Regions from separate parts of the Homo sapiens genome. Here regions 1, 2, 3 and 4 are each linked to region 5. Evidence: promoter capture Hi-C in 16 types of primary human blood cells and fetal thymus (Javierre and others, 2016). All regions are on one chromosome and are shown on one strand. The core of a region is centred on a gene start or on the middle of the fragment in contact, and the rest is flanking DNA. Distances in the headings are between cores, read along the strand shown. Region 1 holds the start of ANGPTL5 (angiopoietin like 5). Region 2 holds the start of C11orf71 (chromosome 11 open reading frame 71). Region 3 overlaps TTC12 (tetratricopeptide repeat domain 12). Region 4 holds the start of BIRC3 (baculoviral IAP repeat containing 3). Region 5 holds the start of CWF19L2 (CWF19 like cell cycle control factor 2).

What was found. Contacts are between HindIII fragments. The CHiCAGO score rates a contact against its expected background, and 5 or more counts as called.
Region 1: a contact is called between the fragment with the promoter of ANGPTL5 here and the fragment with the promoter of CWF19L2 in region 5, in 3 of 17 cell types (total CD4 T cells, total CD8 T cells and naive CD8 T cells). The highest score is 6.9, in total CD4 T cells.
Region 2: the fragment with the promoter of C11orf71 here is called in contact with the fragment with the promoter of CWF19L2 in region 5 in 2 of 17 cell types (fetal thymus and activated CD4 T cells); the score reaches 9.2 in fetal thymus.
Region 3: a contact is called between a fragment that was not itself captured here and the fragment with the promoter of CWF19L2 in region 5, in 1 of 17 cell types (naive CD8 T cells). The highest score is 6.1, in naive CD8 T cells.
Region 4: the fragment with the promoter of BIRC3 here is called in contact with the fragment with the promoter of CWF19L2 in region 5 in 3 of 17 cell types (activated CD4 T cells, total CD8 T cells and naive CD4 T cells); the score reaches 6.6 in activated CD4 T cells.

The regions. Positions count from the first base shown.
Region 1 is chr11:101,915,272-101,917,971 of GRCh38, reverse strand. ANGPTL5 (angiopoietin like 5) reads left to right here and starts at 1,450. Exons shown (of 9, transcript NM_178127.5): 1 at 1,450-1,953. CEP126 (centrosomal protein 126) reads right to left here. Exons shown (of 11, transcript NM_020802.4): 1 at 2,560-2,700. The coding sequence starts at 2,687. The HindIII fragment of the contact is 9,032 bases long and covers 1-2,700 here.
Region 2 is chr11:114,399,201-114,401,900 of GRCh38, reverse strand. C11orf71 (chromosome 11 open reading frame 71) reads left to right here and starts at 1,390. Exons shown (of 1, transcript NM_001271562.2): 1 at 1,390-2,700. The coding sequence starts at 1,570. The coding sequence ends at 1,941. RBM7 (RNA binding motif protein 7) reads right to left here and starts at 1,235. Exons shown (of 5, transcript NM_001286045.2): 1 at 1,134-1,235; 2 at 41-203. The coding sequence starts at 1,229. RefSeq lists enhancers at 1,063-1,605, 1,503-1,892, 1,606-2,148. The HindIII fragment of the contact is 8,162 bases long and covers 1-2,700 here.
Region 3 is chr11:113,314,690-113,317,389 of GRCh38, reverse strand. It overlaps TTC12 (tetratricopeptide repeat domain 12), which reads right to left. Exons shown (of 22, transcript NM_017868.4): 2 at 1,075-1,147. The coding sequence starts at 1,132. Among named protein-coding and RNA genes, the nearest start is that of TTC12, 1.5 kb to the right of the region's middle. RefSeq lists silencers at 2,437-2,536, 2,429-2,700. The HindIII fragment of the contact is 180 bases long and covers 1,361-1,540 here.
Region 4 is chr11:102,316,083-102,318,782 of GRCh38, reverse strand. BIRC3 (baculoviral IAP repeat containing 3) reads right to left here and starts at 1,299. Exons shown (of 9, transcript NM_001165.5): 1 at 1,212-1,299. It overlaps LOC124902739 (a long non-coding RNA gene), which reads left to right and starts at 1,540. Exons shown (of 2, transcript XR_007062864.1): 1 at 1,540-1,697; 2 at 2,211-2,700. RefSeq lists enhancers at 1-47, 308-507, 1,309-1,668, 1,679-1,748, 653-1,852. The HindIII fragment of the contact is 7,438 bases long and covers 1-2,700 here.
Region 5 is chr11:107,456,562-107,459,261 of GRCh38, reverse strand. CWF19L2 (CWF19 like cell cycle control factor 2) reads left to right here and starts at 1,437. Exons shown (of 18, transcript NM_152434.3): 1 at 1,437-1,550. The coding sequence starts at 1,446. RefSeq lists an enhancer at 1,153-1,658. The HindIII fragment of the contact is 1,493 bases long and covers 669-2,161 here.

The sequences.
Region 1 (2,700 bases), core at 201-2,700, 5.5 Mb after region 5:
ATTCATAGGAAAAAGAAAGAACCCTGTTCCTGTTTAGGTGAAGCTGGAAACCATCAATCTTTAGTGGTACAATCTGTATTGTTTTGTGATTTTTCTTTGACAGCATTTTTATTATTCGCATGAAGGAGTAAAGGAGCAGGACTATAGTAGTTATTGAGTGGCTGAGGCAGAATGATTGGGGTACAAATAGCCAAAGATGTTGGTGAGAGAAAGTTCAAATAGTTAAGAATAGGGTATAAACTGGAGAGGAAAGGAGAGGCAAGGTGGGTGCTAGGATAAAATGGGAGGGTTGAAGGGTAGAGATATTTATGAGGAAAAAAAGGCAGGTATAAGGGGACATGAGAGACCTTCCTTTTTTTTTTTTTTTTAAATTCCATTTCTATTTGAACTCTCAAAAGAGAAAAAGAGATTGAAATGACAGAACTTTAGCTAATTTTAATTAAATAAACTTCATAAGGTTTTGTTGTTTTATAACCTTTAGAGTCAGAAAATTCTGACTCCAGTGAGAAAATGTCTTCAACAGAAAGCCAGATGGCCTCTGAGTATCATGTTCATATTTGAAATTGAAATGTAAATGTTACCACATACTTGCTTATTTTAAGGCTGTGGTCCTTTCATTTGCTTTCTTTCCTTTTTTTCATTTAGTCATGTAAATTTGAGCACCTACTCTGTGCTAGGTATCCAATGGGAAACATTATAGACACAAAGAACATTCCAATTAAACTTATATAAAAGGTACTTTAGTGTTTTTCCAGCTAGCAAACATAATGTTCTTGATTTAGTGTTATAATCTTTATTATGTTCAAAAATAATTCCTCTGTTCCAATTTAAATATATATTATCTAAACATATATATACACACATATGCAAACTAGCAAAAATATATATAAACCAGCACACACACACACACACACACACACACACACACACACACACACACACATTGTTGGATTTTATCAAAGTCTATTGGTCATCTATTAAAATGTTCATTTATAACTTGCCTAATTTTAACTATATATTTAGCCTTTAAGGATCTTTTTTAGTGTTGTATTTCTTTATAGGAAATGTCATTCTAATTCTGGAATAGAGTCTATTTGGTTGTGTTCATTCAAAGTATTGCTGGATTCTATTTATGAATATTTTCTTTGGCATTTGTATCAAAAATTTATACCACATAAAATTTAAAAAATGAGGCCTACAACCATTTTATTAATGAAAATAACAGAAAATACACTCTCAATGAGCCATTTACAATACTTCCCTATTTTCTGATTTAGAGATAAATCAGGGTCGTGTAATAGCAGTTGTGTCCAAGAAAATATAATGTCAAGAGGCCAGAATTAAATCCATACAGAAAATGATTGTGTTCATTTCAGAGTAACCTTTAAGAGGGCAATTTTGGGGAGCAGCAAGGGCAAAAGCCAAACTGAATGGGGTTAATAATGAATAGATGAGAGGAACTAGAAGCAGCTATTGCAAGCTACCATTTTGAGAACCTGCCCAAAGAAAGAAAAGACTGAAGGGATGGAAGATTGCAGAAAGCATGATCGGAGAAGAGATATTTTACTTTTAGTGAAGCTCTATACACATTTGTCTTCCTCACTAGATTTGTATCCCTAGAACCTAGAACAGAGTCAGCCAAAGAGCAGGCACTCAATACAAATTGTTGACTTGCTGCTAAAATTGTAACAGAGTACAAAGAACATCCTAGAAATTGGAGACAAAGGGGATAAGAAAACAGAGTTAACTTGGAAAGAGAAGACACTCATCTCTGACAAGACTGAAGATGATTACACAACACCATCATTGCCAACCAAGTCCTTTGGGAATACAAAGGTTAAATCCTAATCATCACAACAGTCTCTAAAGGAATAAACCTGATTTACAGATTTTGATAACAAAATACTTCTCCTCTTTCCATTTTCTACAATGCAACCAACAGCAACATCAAAGGTAGGCTTAACCAACTCTTCGAGAAAAGTCAGAGTTAATCCAGATTGTAAAGCGTCCAGGTCCCCTGTTTCTCATTTCCTCTTTTCTGTCGCTCTGACAACAGACTGGGCAGAGATGGAAAACAAAACAACTTACCAAACTGTGTAGCCTTTAGCAGCTCTGGTAAATGCATTTAGGGCTGTGTTAGGATAACTGTTAAAACGGACTCTTTAGGATAGCAAAACATTTTACTTATTTGTGTAATTTCTCTCTCCAAGTAGTACGATAAATCAGGAAGTAGTTAATATGTAAGTAAAGAACATAATGGCATAAAAATATCCCCACAGAATACACAGTTGATGTGTTTTAAAATTCACAAAAATTTTACAAAGTTGAAGAATGGGAGTAGGATAACAGGGTGATGGGGGGAAGCAGCCACAGAATTAGATAAAATGGTATAATTTCAGGTCTAAGGTGAGACACGACAGTTGCTAAAGGAAATATCTGCACTAAGATGACTTGCTAGTTTTGATCACCCTGCGTCAAAGGTAATGGGAATCTAATTGGAAAAAGATGGGCCCCGTTTTCAACATCGCTACCCTGGCAGCCACAGGCTGGGAAGGATACAGGTAAGAGCCAGGTCGGTGATGCCCGCCGCTCTCCCGAGGGCCGAGGGGGGCTCTGTCGAGGTTGTCCGATGATTCAGTGCCCAGTTCCCCGACCGCGCTCCGGGTTCCGGGCCTCCCCGCCAGCATCCTTCACTTCAGC
Region 2 (2,700 bases), core at 141-2,640, 6.9 Mb before region 5:
AGCAGGAAACAATGCCCCCCGAACCTCATTGGGCAGTTACCTGATCTAAATTGAATTTTGATAGGCCTTCCATAAAGTTTGATTCCATTAAGTAGATTCATTGCATAAGGAACAGACACTTCATGTTTGAAATTCACAAACGCAAACTGCTTTGGTTTACCATCCTTATCTTTTGGAATTTTCACCTTTATTACTGGCCCAGCCTACAAACAAAAAGGTGTTTAGAATTTAAATAAAGCAACTAAGGGAAAATACTCAAATTTTACAAATAAGATATGACAAAGTTTAAAAACAACAGAAACGTAATCAGAAACTTCTTTTGAAAATGATGCACGGATTTCCATTTTGGCTACAGTAAACATCCTAGTTATGACTGAACATTAGATTTATTTGGGGAAGGGGGCCCATAAGGAACTGGAAACACAATCACTTTTGCAATTCACAGCACTGTATGGCTTAACATAGTGACCAATCGCCATTATTTTGCCACTCCATGAAAATGAACATTTATCAAGAACAAGAGAATGATTTTCTTTAACTAAAAACGGACTTTTGTATTGATTAATCAAACAATACCAGTTATTAGGGGATAGGGATGGGGGGAATAGGATACTCAGAATTTTTCACACTTTTTAATACAGCAACACTAAAATGCTGTTTTTCTACGGAGTACTTAACCATTTTATTTTACATATTTTAATAATGCTGCAATTTGATAAGCAAACTTTAGGGGAAAACAGACACAAATAAATTAAAATATTAAGTTCCCAGTCAGATAAACCAAAGACAAATTATCCTAAGGGGAAGATGACAACAGGAAGGATAAGAAAAAGCACTGCTCAACGAAGACCCTACACACACACTGTGTTCCCAAGGACCCCTGGATCTCTACCACGGGAAACCTGATCGAGGATCCCTCCACCACCTTTAGTCGTCACTTTCGGCCTAAACGAACCAAGATCTTCCAGGAAAGCGACACCCAGCGAGCGTTTCGCAACCCAGACCCGCCTTTCACCCCCAAACAGCCACCCGTCGGGTCCCCTGACGGCTACGAAAAGAAAACGGGGTGGCCGCTGGCCAGGCCCTAGGCGAGACGGAAAACGAAAGGCAAAGGGCCGAACCCAGCCGCTTACCTGGTGGAAAAGCTCGAAAAGGAGCTCCTCGGTCACTTTCGTTTCAAGGTTGCCCACAAAGAGAGTGCGATCCGCTTCCGCCGCCGCCGCCCCCATCTCAGCGTCGCCCCCTCCCTAACCTGGCCAAAAGGTCGTGGCCGACGCACCCACTGCGCATTCACGGAAGCCCCACGTCCTCACGCTCCCTGGCGTCACAAACGAAAACGCCCGTTGCGCTTGCTCTCAGCGGGCGACGACGTGCGCGGACGGTCTGCGCATGCTCGCCAGGATACCCCTCGTTAAAGGCAAGGCGGCTTCTGGCTCTTCCGCAGGCTCAGTTATGGGTTCCTGTGTGCTTAGTCATCGGGTCCGACACAGGCTGGACTGATCTGGGGAGCCGCGAAGGGCCTGCCTTCACAAAGGGACGTAACGCAAGTACTGCGGGCAGTGTTTGAATATGGCCCTGAACAATGTGTCCCTGTCCTCCGGTGATCAGAGGAGCAGGGTGGCCTACCGCTCTTCCCATGGCGACCTCAGACCGCGGGCGTCAGCGTTGGCGATGGTCTCCGGAGACGGCTTCCTCGTTTCCAGGCCTGAAGCGATTCATCTAGGACCTCGGCAGGCGGTGCGACCAAGCGTTCGGGCCGAGAGCCGTCGAGTGGATGGTGGCGGCCGGAGCCCAAGGGAACCAGATGGCCGGGGCCGGAGCCGCCAAGCCAGATTCTCACCTTACCCAATCCCTGCCGTTGAACCCGATCTCCTAAGAAGTGTGCTGCAACAGCGTTTGATTGCATTAGGAGGTGTTATCGCAGCTCGAATTTCAGTTTAAACGAACACCTTTCCTCTGGCCCTCACTTAGCTTGTGAACAGGCCTTTTTAAAATCCTTTCTTGGTGTAGCAGCAATCGTGTTGTTTTATTTTTAGATGGATGTATTTTCATTTAATACGTGGGAGTTATATGAATATGTCCTAGCACTAAGGGAAGTGTAACAGTTGATTGATTTAGGTGGTTTTATGCAGCCAGAACGATTGGATCAGGAAAGGTGTGGAAGGGATATTCTTAGGTCGTCACAAAGCTGAGCTGATGGGAGCACCCTCCCCAGAGGTCAACAATCCATTCGTTAACTCAGACACTTAACCTTTACCTTTACTTCTGTTGGCGAAAAAGAAGTGCTCCTTTTTATTACACTGATTTATCCTTCCATCTTTTCCTTGGCATTTACCATCTTCCATCTCCCCCTTCACTTTTTTCAGATATGTCTACAAACAGACTCCAATCTCAGTCGCACTAAAAATAAGAACAAAACCTAAACCTTACAGTTCTTTCAAATTATTAAATCAATTTATTATTCCTTTCTTTGGCAAAGGTTCCAAATTTTTACTTTATATTTGTAATTTTACTATTTGCATTCAGTCCCAGCGCATTAATCTGAATCTGCTGTCCTAAAATACACTGGTGAAAACATTACTTGTACAATCTCCTATCAGAAAACTGTTCATCTACTCACTGTAGTGCCCTCCTTGAAATGTGTGTTTGTTCATTCAACTAACAATATTTGGGGATCCCTGTAGTAAACACTGTATGAAT
Region 3 (2,700 bases), core at 201-2,700, 5.9 Mb before region 5:
TTCTGGATGGTGGTGTCACCAACTGAGACCAGGATGAAGGTGAGGGTAGGAGAAGCAGGTTTTATTTGGGAGGGGGAGGGCAAAGGGGAGGGAAAGAGATGATGCCTCAATTTTGGACACATTTAAGTTTATTTGTGGGATACAGTAGGTATGACAGTACCATAGAGGCAGAGGCTCAGAAAAGAAGGCTAAGTGTCCATGTAGATGTGGGGGTCATGAACAAACAGGTGGCAGGTAAAGCTACATGTTTAGACCAGCTGAAGAGAAAGGTGGCAGTGGGCCAAGGCCAGAGCTCCATGGAACAGCATTCAGGGATAAGCATTATTCATGTATCATTTACGATGTCACCCAAGCTAGCTTTAAAACCACTTTATTCCTTGAACCCATACAATCTGCTACAAGCAGCAATTTCAGCATATTGCCTGTATTTACTATGTAAGGTCTGTTTGCTTGTTGGTTTGTTTGTTTCTATACTCAAGCAAGCTCCCTGAACAGGGACTGACAGGTTTGGAAATTCCTGAATGTGATCTGTGGGATCAGAGTACATTTCTTTGAGATCCAACCTGCCTGAACTTGGGAAAGGACTTTCTTGTCTAGAGAGAGAGAAGGGAATGATGATCATAAACCATCCATGTAATTTGATGGATCCTAAAGGAAAGCCATTTGATTTTGCCTCTGCAGCTCTAAAACAGAAATGGCTCTACTCTAAAACGGGAGGAATCTCACACTGATCAATGAGGTTCTTGACCCTTGAAGGGAACAGCTGGGTTCATTGTCAATGGGGAAACAGCAGCTGGTTTTGACTGGATTCCACATAGAAGGATACAAAATATGGAAGAAAACCGTCAGCCTGAATTCCTATCAGAATGTTAACAGTTTCTCTGATACCAATTAACAGCCAGAAAATACAGCCCTGAGGCTATAACTTGTTTCTCAATACCCTTCTCTTTAATTTCAATTACATTTTTTTCCTAAGAGTTATAAACCTGTCAAGCCACCCAGGAACTTAGAGCAATCATTTATCTACTCCACTTCTCTAAAGCAGAAATTAATTTATGATTTACTAGTACTTACAGATTTCATCCACATTTTTAAGAAATTTCTGCAAATCTTTCTCTTTATCAGCATCCATTGTGAACCGGAATCCCTAAGGGATGCAGCATAATGGTGAAATTAATAATAATAAAGCACTAAACAGAACGGTCAGGCTTATTAGCCTTCTAAAACTAAGAGCCAAGTGATTATTTTTATGACAGTTTTGTTTATGTCAATGAATAACAGCAGGGTGATCCCTTTCATTCCAACTGCTGTTTTAGGCCAAGAGGCACTCATTTACGTGCGGCAATGCTTCCAGAAAGCTTCCAGCCCTCCTTCCAGTGCAGAAAACGCTCTGCAAATAGTTCTTCCAAAGCCAACATCAACCCCGGCGATTTAGGGACCTGGCATGGAGATGAGAAGAGAGCAGATGACAGGTTGCCAAGGATAGAGAAATACACTAACACCTGACTTTGATCATGACAGGCTGGTCTAGTCAGAAGCTTAAATGTGGATGTGTGACAGGTAACAAACTTGGGGCAATTTGCATCTAAATGTCCATACTTGTTTAAAATCTGCCTTTGGCTTGTTTCTGAAGAGTGAAGAAAGGGTACAAATTGACTGAAGGGATTAGAACATAATGTTACCATGCTCACCAGCGTCTCTTCTGCTCTAGGTACCTCAGATATTATTTTACAGTTGTTTTTGTGCGAGAAGGCCCCGTGGTGTACCCAGCAGTACTCAGTGGTTCATCCACAGATCATAAAAATCATCGGGAAGATTGTTAAATATACAGCTTCCTCAGCCGTAGCCCGAGATTTCAAGTCAGTAAACCCGGGACATTGCCCAGACACGAATATAGATTTTAAACACTTTCCAGGTGATTCTCATTTATGGCCAGGTTTCATAGTAGTGTAACACGCTTCTAACACGTAATCTGCCACGAACAAACTACGAGTGATTTAATCGAGTCTCAGTGTCCTCATCTCCACCAGTTACAAGCTGTGTGATTCTGGCTAAATTCACAACCTCTCCGAGCCTCAGAGTCCTCACCCATACTATGGGAACAGTAAGAGAGAAACTACGAGGACTATTCTGGGGACTGATGTAAAGCACCAGGCACGCGACGAGTCCTCACCGTGAAGCACCCTTACCTATATAAAACAGGGGGTGGGGTTGCGGCTTAACTGAATAATCGCTAGGGTTTCTTCCAGGTCAAATCTTTTCAACTCCCACGGAACAGAGGCCTAGTCCAGTGAATTAATCTGCCCAACGGTATGAAGGTTAGAAGGCAGGCGCGCGGGTGCATGGACAGGAGACAACCTCTGTCTCCCAGGGCATGGATCTCAGGGTCCTCACTGCCTGGCCAGTGCCCCCCTACGCTAGGGTGAGAGGGCCAGAGCCAGGTGATGGCGAAGCGGCGCCGCGCTCAGTGCTTCACTCGGTAGGGCTGCGGCAGCGGGGACCTGTGCCCGAGCCCCGCGCGGAGCCTGCCCCAGACGCGCGCTGCCCGCCGGGCGCAAAGAGGCCAGGCCGCACGCACTGTTGCCCAGCAACCGCTCCCAGGCGTCCGCAAGTCCCGGGCCCTCCATGCAGGTCCCAGACCGCAGCCGTCCCAGACCGCAGCCAAGACCTTCCCATGCTCTGGGGCCCAAAGCAGCGTCC
Region 4 (2,700 bases), core at 50-2,549, 5.1 Mb after region 5:
CCAAGCTCTTGGGATTCTTCTTTCATTTCTAGTGGTTCCTTCTCAGATTGGCTCAGTCCCCAGCCTCTCCTCTTCTGACTCATTCATTTAACCTACCAAGAAGGCAACCTCCCCAGTCCCAGGGCTGTTGGGCATCCCTACCCTTTGGGCATGCAGCACATCCATTTTTCTGACACTGGAGGGCAAGTGTGCCTTTTCTTTCTGCCTCCCGCTAGACAGTAAGCTCTTTTAGAATGGCAACTATTAATATGTTTCATCTCTGTACCTGCCCTCCCACTCATAGCATCTGCAGAGCTTGGTATATGGGGTAGACACGAAGACTTCCCGTTGAAGAAGTAAATGACTGAGACCTGAGTGACCACAGTACTTCTATCAATTTTATATTAATGACCACAGAGTCAGCTCAGTGATTGATTAGTATCAGGCTTTGGAGTCAGACATCGGGGGTGCCCAATACCAAGCAGTCCGGTAACCAGAAGCATGACCTTGCACAAGTAAATCTCCAAGAGCCTCAGTTTCCTCATTGTCAAATGGAGATAATTATGGTACCTGCTTCTTAAGATTATGATAATTAAACGTGAAAAATACATGTAAAGTCTTCAGAGACAAACCTAGCACATAGCAGGTAGCAGTACTTAATGTTAGCAATAAATAATAGCAAATAAAGTCAATATTTAATATTATTGTTACGTTAGCATCAGGTACATGCCTTCGACAATGTATTGATCAGAGTAAGAGCACTACTAGGTTTCCATGCTGATCACCAGGAAGACAACCAAAAACTGCTGTCTTCCTACCACCGCTTGGAAACATGCGTCCATTTGCTCATTAAACGTTTTACTTCCTTCCTGTGCCAGAGCTCTGCCTTAGGCTCTGTCCTGAAATTTATTTGGCACCTGCAAAGGCCCAGTGATAACTCTTGGCAACCGAATCAAAATGCCACAACTTCACAATTCCACTGGCTCACTCCAAACGTGAAATAGAAATTGAGCACCTGGAACCTATCTAGAGCCTGCTTTTGGGCCCTGGTGTTTGATAACTGCGCCCCACCCACTGACTCTCAACCTCTGCAGCGCCCCGGGCTCTAGCCCTAAGCGCCCCTCGGCCAGCCGCTGGCACATCTCTTACACCAGGGGAGGCGCGCGCGCGCGCACACATACACACACACACACGCACACACACACACACACACACCAGCCTTCCTTGCCCACCTGCTGCCCAGAGGCCGACGACGCATGCACCAGCAAGGACAAGCCCAGTCTTTTCAAGCGACACCTGTCGCCTGGCCTTTTCCGTGCCGGAGGGCGCGAGTCTCACGCTGTCTTTTAAATGCGTCACCCAAATCCCCACCCCTATCTGTACCAGGCGTTCCGCACTCCTCCCAGTGGTTTGCATGTGCACTGGTGCTTTCCTTTTAGGACTTAGGGGAACTCCAGCGGTAATAACCACACACACTTCCTCTTAATCAGTGGCCTGGCAAACCCACTCGGGGATTTCCATGACCCAAAAGCATGACTCTTAACCGTGGCATATCTTCGCGGCATTTACTGAAAGACATTTGCTTCATTGCTCGTGGGTCAGAGGAAATCTTGATAACAACCCATATAGAGAGGACGATCATTGCTTAGCCTGCCTGGAAAAGGTCAATATGCCCTGTTCTCCACCCTCCATCCGCCATACACTTTACACGTAAAAAGGTTAGGTTTTTCAATCTTCTACTATAGCTGCAGAAGTCCAGCATTTAAAAAAAAAAAAATCGAAACTTTGTGAAATATTTCTATTTATTTTTACTTTTTGTTCTGATCAAGAAAGTAAGAGGTGAAAGGAAATGTAGGGGTATGTGAAAAAAATCATGCAGTTCTCCTTTGCAGTTTATTTTACCATTTTAAAGATTGAAATGGCTTGGTAAATTTTCTGTATGGAAATACTTTTGTTTGGTTTGGTGAGTTGTTTTTTTTTTTTTTTTAATAAGTAGGGTGGAGTTGGCTACTTAAAAAAATCCCTCCTTTATAGCCTTTGATCTCACAGGGCAGGTTTCTGAGTTGCAGTGCCATTCTCAGGGAAACCTGACATCTTTGAGTCTAATTGCACTGCCATATTTCCCTCAACGTTCTCTAAGCAGTAAATTTAAGCAACTTTATCTGAGAGCCATCCGTACCAGGGTAACAGATGGATTTGGAGAGCTCATCTGATTTTCTATCTTCCAGTAGATCAAAGACAATTACCAACCAGAGACAGAGCCCATAAAGATTATTGGAGACTTCATCGTTCTGTGGAAACAGCATCCAGTGCATTCTGCACGCAATTGGACTGAGCTGAGGCATCCTCTTGTTTAGGTGGACTTGGCTGTCCATAGCAGCTGAAGTTCCAGTTGGAATTATTTCAGAAAGACTAAGTGTATTTATCATATGGAGATTTTAATCCACATTTGAGTCTGCTTCAATCAAGACTTTCTAAGCCATTTTCAACTCACTCCTGAGATTATTGAAAATAATTTGCAGGCCTTACACATTTTTGATTATGTACTCACCAGAAGAATTTTGAAAAGCTCTGCATTCCCTTGCCCATTTTTAACTTAACATTAAAACATAAAGCTCTTGTACATGTCAAGAATCTACAAAATGTAAACATAGATATTTTCAGAAAAAATTGATAGAGCACTCTTTTAAATGTATTTGATGGATCCTAATACCATAGTAA
Region 5 (2,700 bases), core at 188-2,687:
CATGAGAGCAGCACCCTCATGAATTCCTATAAAAGAAGTTCTAGAGAGATCCCTCTCCCTTTCCGCCATATGAGACACAGCAAAAATACTGCCCTCTAGGAACCAGGACACACCTTCACTAGACAGCAAATAGCCCAACACCTTGATTTTATCCAGCCTCCAGAACTGTAAGACATACTTGTTTGTTATTTATAAGCCATCCATTCTATAATATTTTGTTATAGCAGCCTGAACTGATTAAAACACACACGTTTCTAATATAATCACAGTTTATTTTTATTGAATTGATGCAAAACAGTGAAATGGATGTTTTTCTGAATTCCAAGAGAATCTGAAAAGACGTTGATGCTAGTTATGACAAATATCAGTCAATGTAGTCAGTTGATTAAATATTACAAGGTCGATTAGTAAATTACATTTTAAAATAAAATGAATACTTTCTATTGCATATCAAACAAGTAGGCATTGTGTGTTCAAGATTCAGACTCATAGAATGGTAGTGAATGTAAAAACTCTTGGAAAGCTTCTTGCAAACACACATTAAATTTTATGAAACCTGAAGAGAAAGAGTATTTACCTCAACCTGGCTTATGTTACTTATTTTTAGCGTCTTTAAGGTATCGTTTATAATTAATTCCCCAGCCTTCTTCTTCTTGTAAATGTAAGCTTAGTGTCTTATGTTCTCAAAGCACTTCATCACCTTAGAATGTCTTATTCTTCTGAACTTAAAAGTTTTATGTTTGGGCGATACATGCGTAAAACAAAACAAAGAAATCTCCGCAGAAATAAATAAGTAACTGTCCATTGTAATGAAAAATGCTTGGATGGATAAGTATGAGTAAATAATATGGGGTCAGAGGAAAAAATATAATGTAAACTTCTAACAAGTTAAGCACGGGTAAATTGTGAAGTGCAATGCAAAATTCACATGAGTGTTTCATATATTAAGTAAAATCCACCAAAACAAAACACTGAATCTTCAAGGCAATTCTGTCCTTCCTGCCAGCTGCCACTACCTTTCTGGCAGCCTCCCTTTATCCCATTCCTCCAGCACAGGGAAATGATGCTCTGGCGACAAAGGGTACTTCCGCAGAAAACTTTTGAGAGGTACCAACTTAACTTCCAAGAGCTTGTAACTTACTCCGGTGATTTTAAGACGAAATTGGTGAGAAAGCTGTTAATATAGTAAAAAGTGCATAATAAATATATACGGGTATTAATCCTGCTCACAATCGCACCCAACACCTGAAAGAATTAAACCCTCCAACACCCTTCGGGTCTTTAAAATCTGGGCTGCGGTAATCCGAGCCCTAAGCGACCTCAGATGTGCGCATGCCCTGTTGGTGGAGCCGTGCTCCTCCTTCCTCGGGTCCGGAAGTCCCGGTTTGTTTGTTAAATTACGACCGTCGTAAACTAGAATTTTCTTGCGGCTTCTTAGCTTTACGATGGCAACAAGTATGGCGGCTGCTAGTGGTAGATTTGAAAGTGCGAAGAGTATCGAAGAGCGGAAAGAACAGACCCGGAATGCCAGGGCCGAGGTGTTGCGCCAGGTACCTCTGTTTTGGGGCTTTTGTAGTTATTTATTGTTGTGGGAGTTGAGGGTTCCCGTAAGCTAGCCCACTCACCCCTTCCCTTACCTCGTCAGTACTGAATCTCACCTTAATTTGGGTGAGTTCTCCCTTTGCAATGCCGGTAAACCCTTTTGTAGCTACCGATTTTTTAGATGTTCTGGCAGGTGCCAGTTGCTAATTCTCTTTTCAGGCAGATCTGTCGCTTTTTCTCCAAGTTTCTTTACCTTTTAAGTTACCCATTCTTTACATTTCTATCACTCGGACTGCACACTTTGTAGGTCCCCTGCGGCTTGTAAGGACTCTGCCAGCATGTCTCGCAGCCTCAGTCATTGCTACTGCTGTATCTGAAATGAGATTTTCCTTTTTCGGAAACACATTCAAGTCACACTTGAATAGACTCAGTTTGACATTTCCTCCTCCTGTCTCTATTGGTATCAATTCCAGACTTACTGTAAGCTCTTACCAATCCAAACAAAAGTTAACACCAATCTCAGTATATTTAGCCTGTCACAAAAGATCGCGAAACATTGTATTTCTCACTAAACTTCAGATACATAGAGGTAACATACAAAGAATGGAGAAAGTAAGCTTCTGAATTATCTGACAATCTATTCAATATGTAAGAAGTGTGGCAATGAAAGAGAAAAGTTGCAGTTGGAGAGCAACAGAGAATTCAGTGAGGGTTTTTGTTTTTATTTAAGTTGGAAGAGTTTTAAACAAGTTTAAATGCAAATGAGAAGGAGCCAGCAGAGAAGAGGGAGAGGAGACTCTAAAGGGAAAATGACATAGTTTCAAAATTTGGCAAATAATTTGAGGGTGAAGCAGCCCCATTCTCCTTTAATCTCCAATTTTCTCACCCTGTTCTTTGGAGTCCATCATAAGCCCTGCTCTTTTCTCTGATATCGATTTTTCTGTTTGGTATATAACCATTGTATTCATCTTCTTGCCTACACCAAGAATTATTATATGCACCCAGGGAAAAGCTAGCTGCAGAATGTTGGACTACCTCTCCATGATTTTCCCTTTTCTGGAATATTAACTCTTCTAGTTCTTGTTGCTTCAGCAGTTCTCTGATATAAACCTTTAATAAATTATTTTTATATTTGATTAAAAAAAAAAAGAAAATGAC